Linked DNA regions of Homo sapiens: region 2 is linked to region 1. Evidence: promoter capture Hi-C in 16 types of primary human blood cells and fetal thymus (Javierre and others, 2016). All regions are on one chromosome and are shown on one strand. The core of a region is centred on a gene start or on the middle of the fragment in contact, and the rest is flanking DNA. Distances in the headings are between cores, read along the strand shown. Region 1 holds the start of FAM53B-AS1 (FAM53B antisense RNA 1). Region 2 holds the start of NKX1-2 (NK1 homeobox 2).

Region 1 (7,813 bases), core at 2,409-4,908:
CTCACTGCAACCTCTGCCTCCCAGGTTCAAGCGATTCTCCTGCCTCAGCCTTACATGTAGCTGCAATTATAGGTGCACGCCACCAAGCCCAGCTAATTTTTTGTATTTTTAGTAGAGATGGGGTTTCACCATGTTGACCGGGCTGGTCTCGAACTCCTGACCTCAGGTGATCCACCTGCCTAAGCTTCCTGAAGTGCTGGGATTACAGGCATGAGCCACCGTGCCTGGCCAAATGTATGCCTTTTTAAATGGACCCTACTGATTGTTCCATTAGCTTCTGTTCATAACTGGTTGGAGAAGGGAGCCAGCATGCTGACTGCTGGTCCCTTGCTGCCAGTTGGCTGCCTGAGGGCCGACCCCTTTGGTGTTGGATGCGGGGCTGAGGCATGTTCTGACCCTTGGCCTACTTTAATGTATCCTGGTGTGTGCTGAAGCTGCCTGTAGAGCCAGCTTAGTGGTAAGATGTCACATGACTTGAGTATGCTGCAGGGACAGCAGATTGTTAGCCACCCAGACCCTGAGATAGATCTTAAAGGTATCATGCGGCTGGACCCCAATTTGTTGTTCTATCCACCAGGCCATTTTACAAGTGAGGCAGCCCAAGGCTGGCATGGCAGGGGTGGGCGGGGGGACTCTGAGAAGGTAACTCTGGGCCTTGGTGACTCTCCCAGAGTGCATCTCCTTTAGCAGAGAGGTGGTTCCAGTCCCCTGGGATTTCCAGTACTGTGGGAGGGGTGACTCTCAGGGCCCTCGTCTTTCTTAGTCCTGAATCTTTTTGCTTTTCTTTTGTCTTTCCAGGGAGTTGACCACATTTGGCCATTTCCCAGAAGGGCCCCACCCCAAGGGTGAGTGGCCAATGGGGAGCTGTTTCTGCTGACATCAATTCCCCAGGAGGTACTCACCCCAAGTCTGCCCAAGTGAAGATGGCTGATACCCACCCTGGGATGGAGCCCAGCGCCTGAGGCCCTTATCATGGTGATGGTCCTAAGTGAAAGCCTCAGCACCCGGGGAGCTGACTCCATTGCATGTGGGACCTTCAGCCGTGAACTGGTGAGGACCTGGCAGGCTTCCTGCTTTCCATGACCATTTCTGAGGCCTGATGTACAGACAGGGCTGTGGACTGAGCACCTAAGCTTAGCAAATCGAGTCCAGAGTCCCCAAGAGCAAAGCTCTGTGAGGCGTCCCGGGCTGGGGCAACAGGGCACAGGAGCAGAGCTTGACTGAGAACTTGCTGGAAGGAAGGAACTCAGCTCAGATTTGAGGTCATCTGGTGAATGAGGAGGGGAGGCCATCCCCTGGTAAATAACAGCAAGTGTGATTCTGCCGCCTGCCAAGCCAGGATTGACATTCCTTCTGTCTCCACCCATTAAGGGGGGGTGGTTTCCAGAGGGGGTTGGTGCCCTGAATGGAGGCCCAGATAAGCCTGTCCCTCTGAAGGGTGGTGCTGCCTCAGGAACGTCGAGAGTGGGAGATGATGGGGAAAGAAGGTGTGGTGAGCTATGGCAACAGCCACCCTCTGCCAAAGGTGGTTCACCCTGGACCACCCTGGACCACTTGGTGGACTAGCGCAGAGAGGTAGCTAACTCGGCCTTCTTAGACTACGAGCAAAACAACCTCCAGTAGCTGAACCCTGTCAGCAGACCTGTCCTTCCAAGCCCAGTTCCTCAGATGTGAGTGCAGGCTGCTCCCCTGTGGAGGGAGCGAGAAGCCACACTCAGTCATAAGCAGTCTTGTGGAGATGGGCAAGTCCTCAGAACTCTCTGCAGCTTCCGTGATCAGGAAGGGGCCAACTGCCCAGGGTCACCTTGCCCAGGACCCCTCCTGGCGCCCTTCACGGCTCCTCGTGAGGACCCACGCCAAGCCTCCTTGGTGGGCCCCTTCCCCTAGCTCATGCCAGTGAAACCAGACCTTGAGCAGATAGACCTAGGTCTCTGGCTGTGGCAGGAGCTTGGGAAAGCCACCGAGATCTGTATTCTTTCCGCAGGCCTCACAGAGCGCCTTCCGTGTGTTGGGCACCAGGCTGGAGGAGTTCAGGGAACAGGATGAGCTGGAGCCAGGCCCTGTACTCCTCACCCTTGAGAAGCTCGTGGTCTAGAGGGAGGGTGTCTGGAGAGCTGTGAATACAGTGACACTTGAGGATCCCATGACTAAGAACTCGCAGCTGAAGCCCATGGGAAGCCCAGGGCTTGTAGAGGAGCAGGGCCAGCCTGGCTGTAGCACGCCAGGGAAAGCCTTGCGGAGCAGGGATACTTGATTTGGCCTTGAAGGGTGAGAAGAAGTGGCTTAGAAACCGTTGGGTCCAGCCTCCTTGTTTTACAAATGAGGCAGCTGCAACCTGGAGCAGGCAGTAACTGCCTCACTGGCTCCGCCTCCGCCTTCCCTCCTGCCCCTCTAGCCCCACTTCCTGGGCCTGCATTCAGGCCTCTGCCTGTTGCCTGGTGTCTGGACGCCAGTCTTGGTGGCCCTCCCTCAGTCAGGTCTCTTCAGCCCTTACCAGATGTGACACTGGTGCCACTCTGCTCATGGGCCTCAGCCTGTGAGGTCTCCATGGGGTGTCACCCCCAGCTGCAAGGATAGGGACTCAGCTTTGCTCCTCCCCATGTCCCCAGCACTACTGAGGCAGGGCAGACAGCAGGCACCTGAGGTGTGTTTGCTCGATGGCAGCCTTGGTCACTGCAGCGAGGAGTAGAGCTGCTGTGACCATTCAGCTCTTCTGCTACCACCCCATCCTTTCCAGTTCACATTTGCTGTGTGATGTGATTACTTCTCACCAGCCCCGCTGCCACCACCCTGGTTCCACCTGCTGTTCTCTCGCAAGGATTCTTGTGGTAACTGGTCCCCTGCCTCTGGCTCTTTTTAACCTGTTCTCCACCCAGCAGCCAGAGAGAATCCCAGTCAGAGCTGTCCTTCTCTGTGTAGCAGCTTCCACTGGCTTTACACTGAATGCTTAGCAAACACCCAGCCCTTACTAGGATGTACATGGCCCCATATATTCTTGTCCATGTGACTGCTTTGACCTCATCTCTGCCACTCTGCCCCCTCTGCTCGGTCCCCACTGGCCTCCCTATTCCAATATGCCAAGCGTGAGCCTGCCTCAGGCCTTTGCACTTTTTCCTTGGCCTGGAGCCCTCTCCCCACAGTAGGACATACTCCCTCCCTCCTTCCTTCTCTGGCTACTCAACCTACAGTTCAGTCCCAGCGCCAGCGCCCACCCCTTACCCCCACCACACTTTCTCTCCTCTTTTCCTTTTTCCCTCTTGGGCACTTAGCACTTTTAAACATGTCCCTGTGGATCTTGACCGAGTCCTTATACTAGAATGGGAGCTTTGAGAAAGCAGAGGATGTCTCTCTTACTTGTTGTTGAATGCACGGGGCCCAGCCCGTGGCAGGTGCTCAGTGGATGTTTGTGGATGGATGAGCTTGCAGGTTCCTGTCACCTGGCCTCTTCTCATTCACCATTGTCTTACTCTCTCTCTGGCTGCTGCTCCAGTTCACGACTGAGTGGGTGCGACTAGAGTAGCTCTGACCAAAAAGAAGGGACCTCAAGGGTGAGGAGCCATCTGGAGGTCCCGAGGGAGGAGCCCTACCCGGGTCCAGCTGTGCAGTTGGCTGCAGTGGCCGCCTCTGTGCTTGGTCCCTTCTCAGGGTGGGACTGCCTGGTGTTGGCTTCAGAGTTGGTTCCAGGACATGTGGGCCCAAGGTCAGCTGAGCTGCTCTTCCAAGAGGTGTGGCCTGAGCCCCTGCCAGGAGGAGCACGGCCTCCCAGCCCTGGCCAGGGAAGGAAAACTCATCTCAGAAAGGGAAAGCAGTCAGGGGAGAGCAGGCGGCTTTGCTGGAAGGGATTCTACCATGTGTTCTCTTGTGGCCACACAGATTAGAATCTGTGCTTTCTTCCTGAACTCTCCTTGCTTTGTTGGAAAGTATCCTTCTTTCTGCTGCTTTTTGTTACTGGCCTGTCCGGGCCCAGAACCACCCAGTGTGCAGTGCTTTGGGTCCATCTGTGGTCTTCCTCCTCCTCTTCTCTCCCCTTGGCTCCAGATGAGAGGTCTGTTGTGGGGAGCAGCCCTGTTGGAGATGGGCTTTCTCATTGCTCAGTTTGCTTATGCGCCCAGAACACATTGACTGGGCGTCAGTGCCTGGCCCGGCCTGGCTCAGCGCTGCCTGCGCTATAGCGTGGGCCAGCAGGAAGGTGTTGGAGGTGCAGCTACACTGAGGGTCTTGGGAAGTGTGTTAGTTCATATCATGTTGCTATGAGGAATACCTGAGGCTGGGTAATTTATAAAGAAAAGAGATTTACTTGGCTTATGGTTCTGCAGGCTGTATAAGAAGTATGGCACCGGCCAGGCATGGTGGCTCACGCCGGTAATCCCAGCACTTTGGGAGGCTGAAGAGGGCGGATCACGAGGTCAGGAGATCAAGACCATCCTGGCTAATATGGTGAAGCCCCGTCTCTGCTAAAAATACAAAAAATTAGCTGAGTGTGGTGGCAGGCGGGCGCCTGTAGTCCCAGCTACTTGGGAGGCTGAGGCAGGAGAATGGCTCGAACCTGGGAGGCGGAGCTTGCAGTGAGCCGATATCACAGCACTACCGCACTCCAGCCTGGGCGACAGAGTGAGACTGTGTCTCCAAAAAAAAAAGTATGGCACCTGCATCTGTTTCTAGTAAGGCCTCACGAAGCTTCCAGTCATGGCAGAAGGTGAGGGGAGAATAAGTGTGTCACGAGGTGAGAGAGGGAGCAAGAGGGAAGGGAGGAGGTGCCAGACCTGTTAAACTACCAGCCCTCACATGAACTAGAAGAGCGAGGACTCCCTGATCACCATGGGGAGGCCACCAAGCCATTCATGAGGGATCCGCTCCCATGACCCAAACACCCCCCACCAGGCCCCGCCTCCAGCATTGGGGGTTACATTTCAACATGAGATTTGGAGGGGACGAACATCCAAACTGTATGCCCAGAGGTCCAGGTACCTCCTCCCTGTCCTTGAGCCTCATGCCACCTGCTGAGGGGCAGGGGTGCACCCATTTCTACCCCATTATACAGGAAGGAAACTGTGGCTCAGAGAGCCCAGGGAGGGGCTGCCCTGGTCACAGATTTCAAGTCCAGGCCCTTGTCTGCTTCCCCCAGCACCTTCTCGCATGGGCCCTGTTCCAGAGGCTGTGATCGCCTTGGAGCCCCTCCAGGCCTTGGGGAGAGACACACGATGTAAATAACTGAAGAAATACTGAAAATAATCTTAGTCTAGTGATGACATCCACGGGACAGAATGTGAGATAAGCTGATGCTAGCATTTGCTTTGAACAGCCAGCAAAGGTTCAGAGGAAGTTGACGGGGTTTTGCTTTAGCTTCCTAAACTGGTAACATCATCCCCGTGTAAATACCATCAAGATAACAACAGGAACGATGGAAAATAATTTTTCTTTTGTTTTCTAATCAGACTAAGAAGATAACAAGTGGAGGTTTAAGATTTTAAAGGAAAGCATGACTGTGGGGGAGGCCGGGACTGGTATCAGCATAGGCCACTTTGGAATTATGGGAGCAGGCCCCAGAGGCGCAGCTCACCCTGGGTCCCCAGAGTCAGGCCTTAGTCACAGAGCGGGAAAGTCTCAATGTGCAAGGGAAAGTCACCAGGGTCCTCGCAACCCTGGGTGTCATGTGGCACTGGAGGAGGAGCTCGTGGCCAATTCTGAGGCCTGTTGAGGGGTGTGAGGACTCGGTCTCCCTCCCAGCCTTCTTAGGGGTTCATGCCATGGTTCTGGTTCCCCTGTTTTAAAAAACTAAATGCTGGTGAAACAACTGTCTTTCCCTCAAAGAAAGATGTGGGAAAAAGGGAAAAAAAGGACTGACCAGTGCTCAGCATTTTGCCTTTCCCAGCACAGGGCCCACCTGCCTGGGGGGAGATGGCCCTGAGGCTCAGCTGTGCCCATGGCCCTGGCTTCGCTTGCACTGCCGGCAGCCATGGCTGGGTCCAGTTCCCCTTTCCCCCACTCTGGCCAGTGCCTTCCTCTGCTGAGTGGGCTCTTCCTTCCAGTGTTCTAACATTAGCTGCTCCCCTGGAAGGCAGCCCAGACGTTTGACCTTGGAGCACTGTGCTCCCTCAGCTCCTTCCCGCACGCCCACACTCAGGCCAAGGGCCTGTTCTTTTGTTTCCAGAGTGACCACCTCCCTTGGCCAGGCCCGCTCTTCTTTCTGCAGCCCATCCTCCCTTAAGGCTGAAGACCAAAGGGAGCTGGTGGCTGGCTGCTCCTGGGCAGAGGGCAGCATGGAGCTCCAGGCTGCCTGACTTTCCACGTAACAACCAATACTTGTCCTTTGGAGGGGCTGATCTGGTAGCTAGAACAAGCACTTCCTTCTGTACTTGTCAGATTAGGATGCCAAGGCTAAATGACTTTTCTTACCTGAGGAGTTAGTGGCCATGTCAGGCCTTGCACCCAGTTGCCTGGGCACTGGGGTTCTTCATACTTCGGGCCATGCTAAGTTGGCACTTTGAGCTCAACAGCCCCAGCCAGGATCTCTGGCAGGCCCCAGGCTGGCCTGAAGTTAGAATGTGGGAGTGCACAGGGTCCAGGGCAGCCTGATGCCTTTCACCCTGGGCAGGCAGAGATACCAAGGGGCCTGCCCATGCTTTGGCTAATCCCAGAGCCTCAGGAGTCAGGGCCAGCGTATCTCTATCCGCATCTTTGAGAGTCTTCACACAAAGGTGCTGTTCCCTCCTCAGCTTCTCTTTCTTGTCTCAGGCCTGGATCTCCTTTTTGCTTTCGACTGCCACGGTCTCGCGGGGTTGCATTTCGGAAGTGTGGGTGCTCCACTCGTTCCCCCGCAGGGCATGAGCGCGAGCCTCCCCCTGTTGCTCTGTGGCTCCCTGTAACACCGTGTCAGGAGATGGAAAAGGTGATTTGATTTCTTTAGTGGATAATGTGCAGAGCAAAGTTACCAAGAACCGTGGTTGTGGCCTGGCATTTTCTGCAGGGCCAGTTCCTCATTTGGAGCCTTAATTGTGTCTTTATTTAAGCCAGGGCTGCTTTCTTTAGTCAGACAGATGGCCCTGAAGCCTCCATTTGATTTCCAGCTTTTGCCTTTCCTACGAGGATCTAATTCCAAAAACCTTCTCTCGTGATCTGAGGAGTCTCACAGAGACGAGGCCCTGCCCCGGCGTGGGCTCGGGAACAGAGGCTTCACGGTGGGAGAAGCACAAAGGGGAAATGTGCTCTGGTCTTATTTCACTGCAGACCTCAGCTAGGGCTCGGGTGCTCGCAGAGTGCAGACACTGAGTGTCTTGTGAAACCTCAGAGGGCCGAGGGGTTCCCTCGGCCTGGTGGGGCCTCCACACCGTGATTGGCTCATTCTTCCCACTGTGGGTGCAGGAGGTTCAAAGTGTTGGAAAGGCCGTGTGTATAGGAATGGTAAATACCAGTGGGAATGTTAGCATATACTGGGAAGCCTGGGGAAAAAAAGGCCCTGGCCAACCTAGAGCCAAGCAGGAACTCTGCTGGTTTGCCCATGTGGAGTTGGACCAGGGAAACCTGCCAGCGGTCAGGGTACACTGGGGCCTGGCACCCTGGAAAGCTGTCAGTACATGACATTCTGGCCTGGCCGCCACTGGCTTAGCCTCACGGATGGGGCTCAGAAAGCAAGATGGGCCGTGATCTGGTCTTGAGGTCAAGCACGAAATCAGTCAGGGTTCCTCCTTTGTCAGCACCAGAGGCCATCTCCAGCTAACTCACCCCGAAAGAGAACTCCCTGAAGCACAGGGCGAGCTCGCAGGGCTGGAGAGGAGGGGGCCAGTCGGGCCTCAGAAAGGGCAGGGTGGGAGCA
Region 2 (7,813 bases), core at 757-3,256, 250 kb after region 1:
TCCCAGCTACTTGGGAGGCTGAGGCAGGAGAATTGCTTGAACCCAGGAGGCAGAGGTTGCACAGTGAGCCAAGATCGCGCCACTGCACTCCAGCCTGGGTGACAGAGAGACTCTGTCTCAAAAAAAAAAAAAGTAAACATGGTGGGAAAATGTAGAAGGGGCGGCTAGGATCAAAAGGGTGAAGGGGGAGAAACAAAAAGGAAGATTAGAAAAAAAAATCGAGAACTGGGTGAGAAAGCATTATCAAAACAGAAAACAAAGTACCCCATCTGTATTTCAGGAAGGCTCTGTGATTTGCAGTCCAGGTTGTCGGGCGCCACTTTTTAGTTTCAGGGCCATCTTTTCTTTGGGATTTTCACATTCCCTTCGATGGGAGGTGGTCCAGTGGACTTGGGAAGGGCACTTCCTTTCCTGAGCTTTAAAAGCACAATCCGTCTTCACTTTAGGACTGGAGCTGGCTTGATTTCCGCAGGCTTTAAAGTCCGCAGGGAATACAGTGACCACCTCTGGGAGGGGCAGCAAGGTTTGAATGAGAAAAGCTACAAGGAGCTGGCTTCTAAGGATGCCTCTTCAATAACAGATGGGATTAGCAGCCCCCAGCACTTTAATGAGAAGGTTTCTCCTCCTCTTCCTACTCCTTACCTGCTCAGACAATATTAATTGCCAAGTCATTGTTTGGAAACCCTATGGGGCGGAGAAGAAAGGAACGGCAGAGTCAGAGGTGGTTCTGGGCCAAACACTAGGAGAAGCCTCAGAATTTGCCTGAAACAAATGCTTAGTGCTCACAGACTGCTGTGTGCTTTCCAAGAGACAAAAGAAGAAATTCAGGATTGGTGTGGCCAGTGGAAGCTTCTCCGACCACTGGTGATCACTTTCCCAGGGGACTTGGTGGGGCAGATGAGGGCCATTTCAACTGTCTCTCTTCTCGGACCTTAAATTCAAACCAGACAGGCATTTCTGAATCTTCTGCTTCTGGGGCTGAGAGGGAATGGGGGTCAGAGATGCAACCTAATTCTCAGATCCAATTTCTGTTGCAAATGATCGAATTTGTGACTCTGGAGAAGGCCTGACGTTTGTCCATTGAGGGCTGTGCTCCGGGTCACAGCAAACCAGGGCAGACACCCTCAGCCATCTCACTTGGCTCTGTGCCTGAAGCCACCAAGGTTTCCAAAGCGGCTGGAATCCCGGTGGGGGCTCACCACCTCTCCAAACCTCTTGCTGGCCTCTGGCTTGGCTTTGGAGTGGAAGCAAAAGACTGAGAGTCCGGGATTTTCTCCCTCCGTTTCTGAGACAGCAGGATGTACTAAAAAAGCACTGACTGGTCCAGTAGAAGACCGAGGTCCAAACCCAGACTCTGTCACCAACTCACAGTGACCCTGGGGAAATCTTTTCTTACCTTTGAACCTCGATTTCCTCATCTTTAAAACGGGGACAGTGGTCTGTGCCACGTGACGCCCATCTCACAGGGATGCTCAAATAATCAAAAGAGATCGTGCAAGCCTCAGGGCTTTGTGAACGCTAAACTGTGAGAACGTGAGGGATTTTACCTCCGAGGTAACCGGGTCTGAAGCTATTACAGTAATTCACTGGCGGGGAAGGAGATGCGCTGAGCATTGCCTGGGAGTAAGCAGTCCTGGCCTCAGTTGCATCCCCAAGTCTAAGGCGGGTGCACCGGAGAAAGGGAACAAACTCAAGTCACAGAGGTGTGTGTGTCGGGGTGAGGGATCCCCGGGATGGAAGCCTCCCTCGCGCCCTCGGAGAGTCCCAGAGGGTTGGGCGGAGGCGCGCGGAGACGACAACACTGTCCCCGCGGTCGCGCGCACCGGGCGCGCGGAGGCTTCCCCGAGCCCAGGCAAGCGGCCGCGGCACAGCGCCTGATAGTCCCGAGGCTGGCCCGGGCTGCGCCGGTGCCAATCGGCGCGCAGCCCCCCGCGGCGCTCTCCCCGCCCCGCCTCCCCGCCCCCCTCCCCAGCTTCACTTGGCAGCGCGGACCCGGCTCCTGGCTGGAAAGCTACCGCCAAGCCACAGCCGAAGGCAAGCCCGAGCGGCGCCATCCCCAACCCCGCGCCGCCGACCGCCGGCCCGTGGGCGACGGGCATGCTGGCATGGCAGGACGGCGGGGCCAAGGCGGCTCCCTCCCACCACAAGATTTCTTTCTCTGTCCTGGACATCCTGGACCCACAGAAATTCACCCGCGCAGCGCTCCCTGCCGTGCGCCCGGCTCCCCGGGAAGCCAGGAAAAGTTTGGCGGAGGTCGAAGCGGGGAAAGATGCCAGCTCCAGGGACCCTGTCCGACAGCTGGAGACCCCTGGTAAGATGCAAGGCGGCCCCGGCCCCAGGAGGCCTCAGCCCCAACAATGCGGAGTGTATGGGGGAACAGCCGGGCCCGGTGAGTGGCCCTTAACAGCGTCTTCCTCAGAGAGAAGGCGCACGGGACCGGGTGCGAAGTGTAGCCCCCGCCTCGGACTTGGATAGAGGCAGAGAGGAGGCTCCCCGCATTACAGGGCAGGGATTTGCCGCATCCCTGCTCACCCGCCAAGCTCACCCGCACCACAGTTCTGATGCTCGCGGTGGAAACTTACCTGGCGCCTGTCTTGCCAGGCTTACTCATTTATCGGGCATTTAATGCGCTTGCCACGTGCTAGGACCTGGGCTAAGGGCTGGGATAAAGGTGATGAAAACTTCGGAACCTGAGAGATGGACAGCATCATTAACATCACCTCCATTTTATGGATGGGGGAGCTGACGCTAAGGCTTGCGCCGGGGGTCTTCGTGAGTAGCGAGGTCAGGTGCCACCCGGAGACGCCTGCGGGGCTGGGCTGCCCCAGGCGCTCAAGCTCCCCAGACTCAACTGTTAACTGGGACTGGGCTGGGGGCGGGGCTCGGATGGAGTGTTGGGAAGCTTTCGGTACTTTCTTCTCGAAACCCTTTCTGAATTACTCCCAACGCTGGCGGACACCTGATGAAGGGGTTAGGAAAGTTTGTGGCTGGAAGGAAGGACGGAAGACAGCAGGAGTCCTGCTGGGATCAGACAGGGAAAGGCGGCTCCCTGGAGGGTCAGAGGCTCAGGTCATCGGGGGAGGCTGGATGCCGCGCAGCCCCCTGCTCCCCTCCCCAAGTTTGGCGGTGATTGCCTGGGGCCCGGGGCGCCTCTGGCGGCCGCACTTGGGCCCAGGCAGGCGGCCTGGTAATTGTTCGGATCTTCTCTCCGAGGGGCCGCCCTCCCTTCCCCCACCCTCGTGATCGATATTCTATTACTGGCGCCTGCATATCTCCTGCCCGCAGCTTGCAGGTACCGACTTCAAACCCCCTTTCCCTGTCTGATCCTAATATTGTTCGATTAAAACTTACCTTTAATAGATGACATCTATCGATCCGGCCCCGCACAAATCTGAAACTCTATTAACACGGCGGGAGAGAGAAGATGGGAAAGGGAATTTCACTTTAAAGCGGGGGCGGGGGTGGGGTGGGGCAGAGAGCTTAATAACTTCTTTTTTAATTGCTGGGAGTCCTAGATCAAAATAGGCTTCTAGGGTCTGGGGAAGGCACAGCCCTAAAAGCGTTTGACATCTAGATGTCTTAATACAATGATCCTACCCCCCAGTATGGTTACCCAATAATGTCACTATTTTTTCTTAATGCGGGGTGTCATTCATTCATTTGGCGTACATTTCTTGGACGCCTACTTGATGGCAGATTTGTAAAGGGCAAGAGGACACCATTCCCCTAAACCCGCTGGCGAGGATGTGTAGTCCGGCCTAAGGGGAGCGCGATGTGGGGACAGGAGCAGCACCCAGAGTTGGGTTGGGGGGACAGCTGCTTGCTCTAGGGAGGACGAGGACGAGGTTTGGGGACCTGGAGAGGCTTCTGTTCACCGACCCCTTCTCCCCTAGATGCTGCGGGCCCAGGCGCCGGCCAGGCGTCCCCCCTGGAGGGTTCCGAGGCGGAAGAGGAGGAGGATGCGGAGGATCCGAGGAGGCCGCGGCTGCGGGAGCGGGCTGCGCGCTTGCTGCCGGGCCTAGCGCGCTCACCTGACGCCCCGGCCGGGGCATTGGCGTCTGGGGAGCCCTGCGAGGACGGCGGGGGCGGCCCTGTGAGGTCCCCCCCGGGATCCCCCGGCTCCCCGCGTCCCAGGCGCCGGCGCCTGGAGCCCAACTGCGCCAAGCCGCGGCGCGCGCGCACCGCCTTCACCTACGAGCAGCTGGTGGCCTTGGAGAACAAGTTCCGGGCCACGCGCTACCTGTCAGTGTGCGAGCGCCTGAACCTCGCGCTGTCTCTCAGCCTCACCGAGACGCAGGTCAAAATCTGGTTCCAGAATCGCAGGACCAAGTGGAAGAAGCAGAACCCGGGTGCCGACGGCGCGGCGCAGGTGGGGGGTGGCGCGCCCCAGCCAGGGGCGGCGGGGGGCGGCGGCGGCGGCGGCTCGGGGGGCAGTCCTGGCCCTCCCGGCACCGGCGCTCTGCACTTCCAGACTTTCCCCTCCTACTCCGCGGCCAATGTCCTCTTCCCGTCCGCCGCCTCCTTCCCGCTGACGGCTGCCGCCCCCGGGAGCCCTTTCGCGCCGTTCCTTGGGCCTTCCTACCTGACCCCCTTCTACGCCCCGCGTCTATGAATCCGGAGCCCCCTGGCCCCTCTTTCGCGGGATTCACGAGGGATTGGCATCGTCGTGTGCCCTCGGCTCCTCCACCGGGGGTGCAGGTGCGCGGGTGTCAGCGCACCCCTGCCCGCCGCGCGCACCCGCGATCCTCGCGGGCCACCAAGGGGTCAGGGATCTGCCGTCCTTCAAAGTGTCCGGGGACGGAGGCTGACCTCAAGCCTTGCCGTTTCTGGACCTTGCTGTTCACTTTGGGTCAGGTTTAATTCAGTTCAGGGGCTAGTTTTTGAGGGTCTGGGTGTTCGGCGCGGGGCTAACCAAGATGCCAGGAGGGAAATACAGGGAGCAGAGACGCCCTGGCTGCCAGCTGCTGGCGGCTAGGATGGAACCTTTAAAGGTGCTGGCTCATCAGAGGGTGAGAAACAGTCTCTGTTCACAACTGACAGCTTCCCCTCCTCGTGCTCGATGGTTCAGCCCAAACCCAGAGAGTTCTTCCAAATCCTGAACGAGGCTGGGGAGAGCTTGGTCCTGGAGCACAGACGGCCGCTCTGAAACGGACTATTTTTAAAATGCATAAAACTCCACATTTCTAGATCTTTACTTAAGATTCGGACTGGAACACAATACTTGTTCCAAATAACCTCCCCAGGCTATTCCTGAGAGAGGGGGTACCTTGGTTTTTGGAGTAGGCCAGAAGTTTGTGGTAGGAAAGGTGACTGATTTGCAGCTAGACTCACCTGCTAAAGTAGACACGGGTCTGTTGCACTGCAGGTTTTGAGAACAGCCTGGACCAAACCACACAGTGACCCCAAAGGCATAAAAATGATAATGAAGGCAGCGATGGCTCAACTAATATCATGAAGTCTATGCATGAGGCTGCCTACTTTGATTTGCAGTAGTTGATACTTTAAAACTTCAGTCCTGGCTTATCTGCCTGTCCCAGGGATTCCTGGGCTCCCAATAGTGAGCCAGGATGGGGAAGAGCTAGCTCCATCAGCACACACTACATGTGGACAGTTGGACTGGACTGTTTTTTAAAAGCACAAACTCAACATTTTTAGATCTTCGTCTAGGATTCTGACTTGAAAACAATTCTTGTTACAAACAGACTCTTTATGGTGGTGAACAAGCAGAGATTGTAAGGGCCCATGAAAGCAATACTTGGGTGTGAAGAGCCGTCATATTCCTAATGGATTCACCTCCAGGAATCTGATACATGGACATGCATTTTAACTGCTGCTTTTATTACCTCCCTTAAAAAATTAGTTCTGTGAAATTCCCTTGCCACTTTTGCTTGGAATACATTTCCTTTAGTTTTCTACCTAATATAATCTTGTAGCCCACGTCTCAGAAACCCAGAGGTCCCCAGTTGTGTCATGTATGTTTCATTCTCACTTTTGATTACTTGAGGCCAGCCGAGATCTGTGTGGATACCATATTCCTTGCTATTTTTTGGTAGCCTGTGCTACTAACAATCAAATTTAATGGTCAATGGCTTCAAAGTAAAGCACCCTGTTTGGTATTATGGATTACATTCCATGACTATGATCTTGAAATATCTAGTTCTGTTATCAGGAATGATAGAAAATATTCCCCATTTCTCCTAAATTAAGTGAAGACTTCATGGTTCATGTGACTCTCATAATATTTGATAGTATGTATTATTTAATTACTTAATATCCACTAATTAGACTCTTTTCCTTCTAAAGAAGAATGTCCCCCAAACAACACATTGTAACTTTCTAAAAGACAGTTGGTGCCAGATGAGATTAAAAATGCAGTTACTCTACTAGATAATATTCACCTTACACTTCGGTAAACACTCCTTTAATAACTATTTGTTGGTTTCTCAAAAGCAATATCCCATATTAAACAGACAATTCAAATGTGACAATTCCTCTGTAACAAAGAAGCTGAATTCTGTAATAAATGGGAAACATTTCATTCCAGTCTTCTCAGGTACCAGAATCATGGACTTCAGTAGAAGAGAGGGAATAGGGAGAGAGGTGGGAGGCTGATCTGTTCGTGGCCCAGCACGGTGCTGTAATTCCTGACCCTTCTGGTTTCCACAGATCATTGCAGAGTAATGCTTGAAGCGTGTGACTTTGGACTTCTGCTGCTTTAAAAGGCCCAGTGGCTTTCCAACCAAATCCTTAGACTCAATCTATTGGTGTGTTTGTCTAATAAATTCTTTTTGTAGTAAATTTATTTTTATTTCTTGTCTCATTATTCCTTGTTCTCTATTAGCAATGCTTTCAAATAATAAGTTTATAATTATCAGAAGGTAATTATAAAGTATGTATGTATCTCTCCTTCTCCCAATAATCCCTAAATAGGGAATATTTCTACACTAACACTCCTTTCTTCAGCCATTTCAGACCCAAGCTAGATATACCCAGAGTGGCTACATTTGCACGCAGGATATACAGACACACATTTCAGGCCATTTTCTTGCAGAAGCAAAACATCTTCACAGAATCTGAATTAGTGGCTGCTAATTATATCAACACCAACCTATTAGATTTCTAGGACATTAACTCTTAGCCTTAACCTTACAAGTTCTTAATACCCCAAAACAGCCTGGTAGGTAACTTTTCAGACTTTGGCCATCTGCTGGTCATAGATTTCTGATGTTAAATATTACCATTTTAGATCCCTGTTTGAAACCACATAGCCGAGGAGCTGTATTTATAGGAGTGACTAGAGAGCGTTTCTTATATTGAGAGAACCACAATCCAATTTATGGGCAGAAATTAATTTAGTATGCTTATCTTTATAGTAATAACTTTTTTTCTTTGAGACAGGGTCTTGCTCTGTCACTCAGGCTGGAGTACAGTGGCGCAATCAAGGCTCACTGAAGCCTCAACCTCCCAGGCTCAAATGAGCCTCCCACCTCAGCCTTCTGAGTAGCTGGGACCACAGGCACATGCTGCTATGTTTGGCTAATTTTTTTTTTTTTTGTAGAGACAGGGTCTGGTTGCCTAGTCTGGGCTTAACCTCAAGCAATTCTGCCATTTTAGCCTCCAAAGTAGCTGGCACTACAAGGTCCTGCCACCACACCTGGCTAATTTTTAAATTTTTTAATTTCTTTTTTTTTTGTAGATATGAGATCTCGCTATGTTGCCCAGGCTGGTTTCAAACCCCTGAGCTCAAGCAATCCAGTAGCCTCAGCCTCCCAAGTAATGGGATTACAGGCATAAGCCAAGATTCTCACTCTTA

What was found. The method cuts DNA at HindIII sites, captures the fragments that hold promoters and counts their contacts. A CHiCAGO score of 5 or more calls a contact.
Region 2: a contact is called between the fragment with the promoter of NKX1-2 here and the fragment with the promoter of FAM53B-AS1 in region 1, in 6 of 17 cell types (total CD4 T cells, activated CD4 T cells, total B cells and 3 more). The highest score is 6.6, in total CD4 T cells.

The regions. Positions count from the first base shown.
Region 1 is chr10:124,699,873-124,707,685 of GRCh38, reverse strand. It overlaps FAM53B-AS1 (FAM53B antisense RNA 1), which reads right to left and starts at 3,658. Exons shown (of 2, transcript NR_120631.1): 1 at 3,355-3,658. FAM53B (family with sequence similarity 53 member B) reads left to right here. Exons shown (of 5, transcript NM_014661.4): 2 at 799-1,050. The coding sequence starts at 973. RefSeq lists enhancers at 1,865-2,456, 6,949-7,098, 7,284-7,813. The HindIII fragment of the contact is 3,544 bases long and covers 1,136-4,679 here.
Region 2 is chr10:124,444,228-124,452,040 of GRCh38, reverse strand. NKX1-2 (NK1 homeobox 2) reads left to right here and starts at 2,006. Exons shown (of 2, transcript NM_001146340.3): 1 at 2,006-2,311; 2 at 3,894-6,798. The coding sequence starts at 2,098. The coding sequence ends at 4,612. It also overlaps the pseudogene OATP1. RefSeq lists enhancers at 25-581, 582-1,137, 4,454-5,321. The HindIII fragment of the contact is 2,053 bases long and covers 852-2,904 here.